3 separate regions of the Homo sapiens genome follow, and all the other regions are linked to region 2. Evidence: promoter capture Hi-C in 16 types of primary human blood cells and fetal thymus (Javierre and others, 2016). All regions are on one chromosome and are shown on one strand. Each heading gives the region's core, a stretch centred on a gene start or on the middle of the fragment in contact. The rest is flanking DNA. Distances are from core to core; before and after follow the strand shown. Region 1 overlaps LOC105373421 (a long non-coding RNA gene). Region 2 holds the start of ADAM17 (ADAM metallopeptidase domain 17). Region 3 has its middle 3.0 kb from the start of TAF1B.

Region 1 (3,751 bases), core at 912-3,411, 260 kb after region 2:
GGTCAGGAGACCATCCTGACCAACATGATGAAACCCCGTCTCTACTAAAAATACAAAAATTTGCTGGGCATGGTGGCACATGCCTGTAATCCCAGCTACTGGGGAGGCTGAGGCAGGAGAATCGCTTGAACCCAGGAGACGGGGGTTGCAGTGAGCCGAGATTGTGCCATTGCACTCCAGCCTGGCGACAGAGCAAGACTCCAAAAAAAAAAACAAAACCCTAACCTGATCAATAAGCCAAAAAAGAACTGAATTCTCACGTGGACTCCCCTACGTATACCTATCCTATACCTATGAGGTATGACCTTAGCAGATTAACCTCTCGATTTCCTCTTCTGTTAACTATGCATACTTCACTGGGTTGTTGTTTGCTTGTTTGTTTGTTTGTTTTTATGAGATGGGGTCTCGCTCTGTCGGCCAGGCTAGCGTGCAGTGGTGTGATCTCCGCTCACTGCAACCTCCGCCTCCTGAGTTCAAACATTTCTCCAGCCTCAGCCTCCCGAGTAGCTGGGATTACAGGCACGTGCACCACGCCTGGCTGATTTTTGTATTTTTAGTAGAGATGGGGTTTCATTATGTTGGCCAAGCTGCCCTAGAACTCCTGACCTCAGGTTATCCACCTGCCTCAGCCTCCCAAAGTGCTGGGATTACAGGCCTGAGCCATCGTGCCTAGCCTGGATTTTTATGAGAACTACATGAATCCAGGTTGGTTTATACTTTTCTAATTGGGGAGAAATTCCCTTGAGAAAATTCAGAAACACATTGAAGATTTTGGAGCCACAGGATAAACACGTTTCTTCATGTTGAAGTGGCAAAGATTTGAAGAAATCATACTGTATTTCCTGTTAAAGCAAACATGACTCAGAATAGAGAATAATGCAGAAATGCAAGAATTTTTAAGCTAAAACTCAGGACTGGAAAGAAACGTCAAGCTTGGAACTCGTAGTGCCAGGCTCTGCCCCTCATCTCACCAAAGCTCAGTTTCTCCCCCGTTCAGGGTTGAATTGTGCCCCCCAAAAAGAGATGTTTTTGTCCTGACCCCAGTACTTGTGAAGGTGAACCTATTTGGAAACTGAATCTTTGCAGAGTAATCAAGTTCAGATGAGGCCATTAGGACGGACTGTCATCCAATACAACTGTCCTTATAAGAGGAAGACAATGGTACATGAGGACAGTGACACACAGGGAGACGCCTCGTGGGGACAGGCAGAGGCCGAGGCACTGCCGCTGCAGGCCAGGACACCGGGGGCTCCCGGCCAGGCCAGCGGCTGGAAAGGCAGGCAGGATTCTGCCCAGAATATCAGAGGGCCTGGCCCTGCCCCTGTCTTGATTTTGGACCTCCTGGCTCCCAAACTGTGAGGGAGTAAATGGCGGAGTCTCAGCCACCCCAGTCTGTGCTCTGTGGCAGTGGCGCAGTATCACACACTCCCTGACTGGGAAAAGGGTGGGAAGTCCTGCAGCTGGCCAGAGAGAACCGGCAGACCCGTTTCAGTCCTGTTATCCTGCCCCGGCGGCCGGGCCAGTTCCCCCCGGGAGCCCCGGTGTCCCCCTCCTGTGTGTCCTGCTGGTTCCCGGCAGATGCTCCGGGCGCCACTGCTCTGTTAGCCGCTGTTGGCCTCCTCCTGTCACATGTTTATGCTTGTAGTAGCAGAATCCAAATCCGGGCCATTATCGCAGGTGGCGGGCCTTAACCTGGCAAGCCTGTGAACCCTTCCCAGTGCTGCCCTGGAGAAGGGCTGGCCGCTCAGGCCCTCACAGCCTGAGAGCTCGGAGAAGCTGCCCCCAGACTCTCAGGGCCCTGTGCCTGCCCCAGCCACTTGGGCCTGAAATTAGCGAGGGGCCACACATAGGGGCCCAGACCAGACCCCAGAGAAGTCCCCTGCCCCTGACTTTCCACACATGGCAGCAGTGAGGTGTCTGCTCCCTGGCTAGGGCAGCATTGTTGAGCCCCCACTGGAGCTGGGCGTCTCCCTGCTCTCAAACAAACCAACTGTGCACAGTGGGGCAGGGACGGTTTCCTAGAGGAAGTGGGGCTTAGGCTGACTCAGGGAAGGGCAGTTTCACTGATAGGATCTGTTTACCCGCCTGACTTCTCCAGCATCACCATAAGCTCACAGGGCTGGAACGGATTCAGGTCGCCCAGGCCCAGGGCATGGGAATTGGAAAACGTTTGTTGAGGTGAATCAAAGCTAGATGGAAGGCCAGGCACGGTGGCTCATGCCTGTAATCCCAGCACTTTGGGACACAGAGGTGGGCGGATCACTTGAGGTCAGGAGTTCGAGACCAGCCTGGCCAACATGGTGAAACCCCGTCTCTACTAAAAATACAAAAACTAGCTGGGCGTGGTGGCGGGCACTTGTAATTCCAACTACTCAGGAGACTGAGGCAGGAGAATCACTTGAACCCGGGAGGCAGAGGTTGCGGTGAGCCCAGATGGCACCATTGCACTCCAGCCTGGGCGACAAGAGTGAAACTCCATCTCAGAAAAAGGAAGAAGAAGAAGAGGAAGAGGAGGAAGACGAGGAGGAAGAGGAAGAAGAAGAAGAAGAAAGAAGAAGCTGAAGAAGCTGGTTGGGAAGAAAGGGAATGCGATTCTATGAGGCTGGAGCCAAGACGAGCTGAAGAAGCTGGTTGGGAAGAAAGGGAAGGCGATTCTATGAGGCTGGAGCCAAGACGAGCACTGGAGCAGAGGTTCAGCACAGCGTCCAGGGAACAGACAGTGCTGTGGGGGGAGCGTGGGGGAGGAGGGGGTGGCAAGGACCCCTGTCCACCATCCTGGTGGGGGCCCAAAGGTGCTTTCAGTGTCCTATCACTGCCATGGCTGCTGGCAGAAAGTCCTGGCAATGATCTCGCACGTCTGGGGCTCAGGAAGGGAAGCCCACCCGCCCACAGGAAAGGGATGCCTGAGTGGCCTGGCCAAACTCTGCCCACATCTCCTCTCTGGCAGGACGCATGCTACCCAGGCCCAGTCCCGATCCCAGGACAGCACCCACAGGAAGGCTGCCAGTGGTTCTCCTGGAAGCAAAGACTCCAGCTGCCTGGCTTCTCCCTTCCCCAGGGACGCCTCCATCCCAAGCTCTGGCCAACAGGCTGCCCAGGCTCCCTGGGAACCCCTGGGTGCCGTGGCGAGTGGGGGCTGTGGTCTCACCCCCGGGCACGCCCTTCCTCCAAAGGCCTGGCCAGTCCCAGTGCATCCTGTGCTGAAACTCCCAGGGGATGGGGTTGGGACAGCCCAGCAGGTTCCAGAATGCTCTCTCCTCTGTCCACCCTGAGTTAGAAGTCTGTGTGGAGGCCCAAAGGTACTTTAAGTGCCCCAGCACTGCCATGGCCTGGGAAGCCAGGACACACAGGCTGAAAGAGTGAGGTCTTCCCATCAGAGACCCTGAGCCCCGAAGCTTTGGAATCAGCAGCGTTCAGCGCGATGGAGGCGCGGTGCCACCAGGTGGCGCCGTCAACCCCTCACTTAGGGCTAAGCGCCCTGGCCCCTCTGGATGAACCAGCAAGGGCGGAGGGGGACACCGGAGAGCGAGACGGCCTCGCTAAAGAAGGCCCCCTGGCCTTTCAGGATGAGGGGCTCAGTCAGCCCAGTGATGGGGACTCCGTGAGAACTGAGCTGTGAAAACGTGTTGGAGGCACAGTACCCACCTCTGCCGCGTCTGAACCCAGATTTGCCAGGAAGGCTCTTGCTTTCTCAATCTCTGTTCCCCGGTCATCACGAATACCCTGTGCTGGTCACTTTGTGCATCCCCAT
Region 2 (3,745 bases), core at 1,038-3,537:
CACATGCCTGTAATCCCAGCTACTTGGGAGGCTGAGGCAGGAGAATTGCTTGAACCCGGGAGGCGGAGGTTGTGGTGAGCTGAGATGACGCCATTGCACTCCAGCCTGGGCAACAAGAGCAAAACACTGCCTCAAAAAAAAAAAAAAAGAAAGAAAAAGAAAAGAAAAGAAAAAAGAAAAGTCTATGCATTCTTCTGGCACAGGTGGTCTGCATTTTGCAAATAAAAAACAAACACATGGGCCAGGAGCGGTGGTTCATGCCTGTAATCCCAGCACTTAGGGAGGCCCAGGTGGGCGGATCACGAGGTCAAGAGTTCTAGACCAGCCTGGCCAACATGGTGAAACCCCGTCTCTACTAGGAATACAAAAATTAGCTGGGCGTGGTGGCACATGCCTGTAATCCCAGCTACTCAGGAGGCTAAGGCAGGTGAACTGCTTGAACCCCGGGAGGCGGAGGTTGCAGTGAGCTGAGATCGCGCCACTGCACTCCAGCCTGGGCAACAGAGCAAGACTCTGTCTTGGAAAAAAAAAATGGTCTAAAAAACCTTACGATCTGCAAATGTTATGAATTGATCTAGAAAGTAATGTTTCTCTTTAAACTGTATGCTTCCTTGGGACTCATGCTTATTTTTACCTACGAACAACAGATTAATAACATAAGTGAAACAGTTGTGTCAGGGTGGTGCAAATATAATTTTAATATCTCAAAATACATATTTATTCTTTTTACTAACATTTATCCTTAAAATGAAGACCCTTACCCTATCCCTCCATCCTAACCACAATCCTACCTCAAAATGTCCTTCAATTTGTACTGACTTACCACTTCTCAGCACTTCCTAACAAGATCCCTTGCCTTTCATTAGTCACTTGTAATCCATTTCAATCGGAAAGAATCATAAGACAGCTGTTCAAGTGATAACACTCTCAACACCTTTAGTATCCATACCAATCCATTACAATTTCTGTCCACTAAATATAAAGAAAAAAAATACTACACATGGTATCATGGTGAAATTTGGGAACCAGTACAACCATGCAAGCCTACAATTTCACACACTGGGAAAACATTATTTCACACTTTATTACTAATTAAAGTATCTTACACGTCAATTTTTGAAAGATAAAAGGATTTTAAAATACACTAAAAGTTCACGCAAACTTACTTCCACCAAAGTTCAGATCCCTTAATGCATCTCCATCCTTAAAATCCAATCTCTCTGGAAAATCTAATGAAATAGGAACCCTCTACTTTCTAGCCTCTAAATTCATCAAACTCGTCACTCTTGATAATTTCTTTGTTTAAAAGTGCAAGGAAAGCATTCATAGTGGCAGCATCACGAGTTGGCTTACCAGGTTTCCGCCTCCCCCCATCTCCCAAGCACCTCCAATAAGCTACAATTGAAATAACCAAGAACGTGCTTAGGATGTTCGCAAAAACACAACTCTTAAGACTCCAACTCCAGTCTCCGCCTCCCAACGAGATTACTGCATAAGTACCTCCTACAGCAGAAATTCTAGTTCCCTCCTTCGAGGACCAGGAAGAATTCTGGAGCTTTGGGCCCTTCCTTTCTGGCTCTGGTAGGAACACACAACACTAGATTTGTTCCCTACTAAGGCAAGAACCCTGACCACATCTCCCTCTCCAAACAAGATCCAGCCACCCTACTCCTTACCGCTTTCCCAACACCCTCCCCGAACACAAAGCTAGGGAGCAAACCCCTCTCAGGCGCTCAGTCACTACATGGAGCCCGTCCAGTAGCCCTTTCCCACTCAGAGACAGGCCCATCTCCTTTATTCTTTCCCCAAACTCCGAGAGCCACACCCCCTTCTACACTGAAAACTTAGGGACGCGCCACCATCGCCAATACCCCGCCCCCAAACACCTGATAGACCCAGCTCCCCTGCTCTTCCCTCAAACGAGCGCTCCAGGCGCCGGCCTAAGCCAACTCCCCTGGGTCTTTACCGAGTCTCTGGTGGGGGCCGAAGCCCGGGTCATCCGGAGGTCGCGGCGCCAGCACGAAAGGAACCACGCTGGTCAGGAATAGGAGAGACTGCCTCATGTTCCCGGCCCCGCTACCGACTCCACCTCTCTGGGCAGCCTTCGCCTGACGGGGTTTCGGAAAACTGCTCACATCGGGGGAGGACGGGATCCGCCCGGCCTAGCCCCTCAATCCTCTTTTCCCTCCCGCGCCGCCTACTGGGAAGATTCTACCGCCAGGCTCGACGCCCCCAGAAGTGCAGGTGGCGTTACCAAAGGCCGGCTCAGCCAGCTTCCGGCCGCCGCTGTCCCCCGCACCACCCACAGCCGGAAGCCGGCTGCCGCGCGGCATCCCGGGAGGCTCCGCTTGCCCCGCCCCACGCCGGTGCGCCGCGGGCCTCTGGTCCGCTGCCGTGTTCGGCCCCGCCCGTCACGTCTAGCTGGGGCTCGCCCGGCGCCTTCCTGGACGCAGACGTATGAGTCCCAACTCCACCCAGTCCGGCCTGGCCTCTGTCCCCGGGTGACCGCGGAATGGGGGGGCGGGAGCTAGCGAGCAGGCCCTCAAGCGCGTCTGGCCGCCTCCTTTGTCTTGATGCCCACGTCTGGTTAGGACCCCTGCTGTCCATTTTATTAAAGGAGCTGTAGAAAGCGGCCTGGGGCCCAGCGACCTGCCCAGGGCGGACGAGGAGGCGCGACTGGCCCGATGCCGCAGGCTCTCTGCCCAGTGTGCTCAGGTGGGAGGGCGGGGACATGAATCGAGCCACAGAGTGCCCTGGGCACGGACCCCCCGCCCCCCCCGGCCCCGGGCCCCGAGCCCCGAGCCCCGAGCCCGGCCACCGAAGCCCGTGCCACTCGCCAGCTCCTGCGAGACGAGCCTTTCGAGCGCAGCTCAGGCATTTGGTTCAGGGTCCTACTGCCGGAGTCGTCTGAGGCCTCCATCCGTCTGTCGTCACGAAAAAGGTTTTGGGGGGACTAATAAGCACTTCCTGAATGCACATTTGCTCCACGCCCCTGCTGTAGGGAGAGGGTCTGCAGACACTTCAACAAATAGAATCCTAGGACCTTACCTGTGAGTACAAGAGCTGGAATCTTCCCACCAACTTCTTAAAATTCAATCCTATACTTGGTCCATTTAGCTTAGACTGGAAATTTCCCAAGGCAGTTTGTTTTGCAATCTTTTGCATGATTTTAGCTCTGTATAGTTTAGTGAATGTTTATGGTACTGAATAAAACAGTCTAAAAACGTTGGGTACATGTTGCTGTTTTATTTAGTTCAACCAAAGTTTATAAAAGTAGGACATAATACGTTTTCCACTTAAGAGTGAGACAGCCTTTATTATGAAACGGTAAATTGTTAGGAATACTAGTCCTATTCAAGTTTCAAGGCTTATTCCTAATAAAATACTCAAACTGTGGTTAAAATTTATGTTAATGGTGGTTTGCCGCAGTAAAATATCAGCGTCTTTTTCAACAATACATTGTTGGCTAAAATTAACCGGACCTGGTCTGTACATCTGAAGTATAAAATATCTTTATTAAACATACCCATTAGTGGCATACCTAGTCAAAAAGTAAGCAGAATTTCACATGCAAATTGTATACAATCTGTAAAAATTGTATTCCATAAGAATGTGACAGTTGAGTACGGTTTTTGGGGGGCTTTTTTGGTGTACCATAATAATGTCATCTGGTTTCTTTTCTGAACATCCAGTCACCATAATGTCCGGCTTGTAACTTTAGTAGATCGTAGATTGTATTATTTTG
Region 3 (3,987 bases), core at 1,397-3,896, 290 kb after region 2:
GCTAGTTACCTTCTTTTTTAAAAAACAGGAAAGTAAGTATTCCTGGGATGACAAGTAGTTGTCAGTAGTATTGGCAGATATTTTTGAAATGGGGAATACACTTAATTTGTCCCTTCAGGGTAAAGGGAATGTTTTAACAAAGTGAGCATCAGAATGGCTGGGTGTCTTGACTGCCTTATCTTTATATTTATGATTGCAAATGTCAAGTAGGCCCTCATGCTGCTTGCAATTTTTGCTAGATTCCTGATTCCATTCTTCCATTTCCAAGAGTTATTACACCTCTGGTCTCCTCTCAAACTTCCCACAGCCCTCCCCACTCCCACTCTCAACTGATGACTTGCTTCCATTTCAATGAAGCTCAGAGAACAGACCTTCCACCTCATGCACCTGCGCTGTCCCACGTGCTCTCCCTTCTTTCCTGGTTCTGCAGCAGATGAACCCTCTATGCTAGGGCTGACCCCTCCATGGTGCTGCAGATCCTCTCCCTTCTCACGCACTGCATTAGTCTGTTTTCACACTGCTGATAAAGACATACCCGAGACCGGGCAATTTACAAAAGGAGGAGGTTCAAATGGACTTATTCAGTTCCATGTGGCTGGGGAAGCCTCACAATCATGGTGGAAGGCAAGGCCTTGACCTCCTAAAATCCTGGGATTATAGGCATGAGCCACCAAGCCTGATCTAATTTGTACTTGTCTGATAAGTAATGACGTTGCGTACATTTTCATATATTTATTGACCATTTAGCTGTTATCTTTTATGAAATACCTGTTCAAATCTTTTTGCCTATTTTTAACTGGATTGTTTATTATTTCTTAATAGATCGGTAGGAAACCTTTGTTACATGTCTTGTCGAATATGTATTGTGAATTTCTTCTCTCAGTTTTTAGTTTGCTTTAATTATGTCTTTTTTTTTTTAATTTTTTTTAAAGACAGGGTCTCTGTCACCCAGGCTGGAGGGAAGTGTCATGATCACAGCTCACTGCAGCCTTGACTTCCCGGGCTGAAGCAATCCCCCCGACCCAGCCTCCTGAGTAGCTGGAACTACAGGCATGCCCACCACACCCAACTAAGTTTTAAAAAAATTTTGTAGAGATAGGATCTCTCTATGTTGCCCAGGCTGATCTTGAACTTCTGGGCTGAAGCAATCCTCCCACCTCGGCCTCTGAAAGTGCTAGGTTCTAGGCGTGAGCCACTGTGCTCAGCCTAACAATGTCTTCTGATGAATCGAAGTTCTTAATTTAATGAAATCCAGTGTAATGACCTTTTCTCTTAGGAGTAGTGCTTTTTGTGCCCTGTTGATGAAGTCTATTCCACACCAAATCATAAAGATATTTACCACTTTTTTTTTCTAGAAGCTTTATGGTTTTACCTATCACATGTAGGATCTATTTGAATTAATTTTTGTGTACAGTGTGAGAAAGGGGTCAATAATTTTCTCATATGCATGTCTGATTGATTCAGAACCATTTATTGAAAAACTATTCTTTCAGCTCACGCCTATAATCCCAGCACTTTGGGAGGCCGAGGTGGGTGGATCACTAGAGGCTATGAGTTCGAGACCAGCCTGGCCAACATGGCAAAATTCCATCTCTACTAAAAAATACAAAATTAGCCAGGTGTCATGGCACATGCCTGTAGTCCCAGCTACCTCTACTTGGGAAGCTAAGGCCCGAGAATTGCTTGAACCTGAGTGGCAGAGGTTGCAGTGAGCCGCGATTGTGCCATTGCACTCCAGCCTGGGCAACAGAGCAAGACTCTATCTCAAAAAAGAAACAAAGAAAAAGGAGAAAAGCTATTCTTTCCTCACTGAATTTTAGTAGCAGCTTTGTTGTAAATCAGATTATTTTATATGTACTTATGAGTCCGTTTCTGGACTTTCTATTCAGTTCTGTCAATTTTTTGGTCTATCCTTGCATCACACTAGATTACTGTATGATTTATTTTTTTCTCTTTTATTTATTTTTTAAATCTTTATTCTTTTTTCTCTACTTTTTCTTTTAACATTTTTTAATTTTGAGAAAAGGTCTTGCTTTGTCATGTAGGCTGGAATGCAGTGGCGTGACCACAGCTCACTGCAGCCTCAACCGATCCTCCCACCTCAGTCTCCTAGGTACCTGGGACTATTGGACTGTGCCACCACACCCAGCTAATTTTTTAATTTTTTGCAGAAATGAGGTCTCATTATGTTTCCCAGGCTGATCTCAAACTCCTGGGCTTAAGTGTTCTGTCCACCTTGGCCTTCCAAAATGCTGAGATTACAGGCTCGATGTTAAACAAACTTGCATTCCTAGAATAAACCTAACTTGGCTGTGATTTATTATCCTATTTATATATTGCTGAGTACAACAGGATGTACATTCAATTTACTGATGTTTTGTTTGGAACTTTTGCATGTATGTTTATGAGAGGAATTGCTTTTTAATTTTGACTTTTCTTGAAATATCCTTGTCAAGTTTTGGTGTCAAGGTCATGCTTGTCTCCTAAAATGTACTGGTAAATGCTCTTCTTTTTTCATTATTTGGAAGCATCTGTATAAGATGGGTGTTATTTATTTCTTTTTAAAATTATTATTATTATTGAGACAGAGTCTCTCTCTATCAACCAGGCTGGAGTGCAATGGCATGATCTTGGCCCACTGCAACCTCTGCCTCCCAGGTTCAAGCAATTCTTGTGCCTCAGCCTCCCAGGTAGCTAGGATTACAGGCGTGCAACACCATGCCCAGCTAATTTTTGTATTTTTAGTAGAGACGAGGTTTTGTCATGTTGGTCAGGCTGGTCTCGAACTCCTGGCCTCAAATATTCTCCTGCCTCAGCCTCCTAAAGTGGTGGGATTACAGGCGTGAGCCACCATGACTGGCCTATTTCTTTCTTAAAAATTTGGTAGAATTTGGCCAGGCGTGGTGGCTCATGCCTGTAACCCCAGTACTTTGGGAGGCCGAGGTGGGCAGGTCAGGAGTTCAAGATCAGCCTGGCCAATATGGTGAAACTCCATCTCTACTAAAAATACAAAACTTAGCCAGGTGTGGTGGTAGGCGCCTGTAGTCCCAGCTATTTAGGAGGCTGAGGCAGGAGAATTGCTTGAACCTGGGAAGCGGAGGTTGCAGTGGGCTGAGATGGTGCCACTGCACTCCAGACTGGGTGAAAGAGCAAGACTGTCTTAAAAAAAAAAATTGGTGGAATTTTCACATTTATTGGCCTAGAGTTGTTCAGAATATGCCCTTATGATCTTTTTAATGTCTGTGGTATTTGCAGTGATGCCCCTACATATTGGTTAGTGATGCCACTGATATCAGTTTATTTTGATTTTCTTTGCTCCGTTGCTCAGACTGGAGCACAGTGGCCCGATTATAGCTCACTGCAGCCTTGAGCTCAAGCAAACCTCCCGTCTCATCCTCCCAAGTAGCTAGGACTGTAGGTGTGCATCACCAAGCTGGGCTCTTTTCTTTTTGATCAATCTTTCCAGAGTTTATCGAATGTATTAGTATTTTCAAAGAGCTAATGTTAGTTGGTTGAGACTCTCTTCTTAAAAAATATCTTTTAGGCTGGGCGTGGTGGCTCACGCCTGTAATCCTAGCACTTTGGGAGGCCGAGGTGGGCAGATCACTTGAGGTCAGGAGTTCGAGATCAGCCCAGCCAACCTGGTGAAACCCCGTCTCTACTAAAAATACAAAAATTCGCCAGGCGTCGTGGCGCGTGCCTATAATCCCAGCTACTTGGGAGGCTGAGGCAGGAGAATTGCTTGAACCTGGGAGGTGGAGGCTGCACTGAGCTGAGATTGAACCATTGTACTCCAGCCTATAGAGATGAGGACTCAATATGTTGGGCAGGCTGGTCTCCAACTCCCGCCCTCCAGCAATCTGCCCGCCTTCGCCTCCCACAGTGATGGGATTACAGGCACCAGCCACCACAGCAAGCCTTTGTGGAGCCTATCGAAGCTTGCTTTCTCTTTTATTAATTTCTCTTTTTTAAACATTTCCTTCATCC

What was found. Contacts are between HindIII fragments. The CHiCAGO score rates a contact against its expected background, and 5 or more counts as called.
Region 1: a fragment that was not itself captured here is called in contact with the fragment with the promoter of ADAM17 in region 2 in 1 of 17 cell types (activated CD4 T cells); the score reaches 6.0 in activated CD4 T cells.
Region 3: a fragment that was not itself captured here is called in contact with the fragment with the promoter of ADAM17 in region 2 in 1 of 17 cell types (activated CD4 T cells); the score reaches 5.1 in activated CD4 T cells.

What each region holds. Positions count from the first base shown.
Region 1 is chr2:9,810,575-9,814,325 of GRCh38, forward strand. LOC105373421 (a long non-coding RNA gene) reads right to left here. Exons shown (of 3, transcript XR_007086206.1): 1 at 3,646-3,751. Among named protein-coding and RNA genes, the nearest start is that of TAF1B, 31 kb to the right of the region's middle. The HindIII fragment of the contact is 2,463 bases long and covers 931-3,393 here.
Region 2 is chr2:9,553,543-9,557,287 of GRCh38, forward strand. It overlaps ADAM17 (ADAM metallopeptidase domain 17), which reads right to left and starts at 2,288. Exons shown (of 19, transcript NM_003183.6): 1 at 1,967-2,288. The coding sequence starts at 2,063. RefSeq lists silencers at 1,298-1,592, 2,207-2,496, 2,727-2,946, 2,918-3,212. The HindIII fragment of the contact is 10,331 bases long and covers 1-3,745 here.
Region 3 is chr2:9,838,455-9,842,441 of GRCh38, forward strand. No RefSeq gene overlaps it. Among named protein-coding and RNA genes, the nearest start is that of TAF1B, 3.0 kb to the right of the region's middle. The HindIII fragment of the contact is 2,580 bases long and covers 1,357-3,936 here.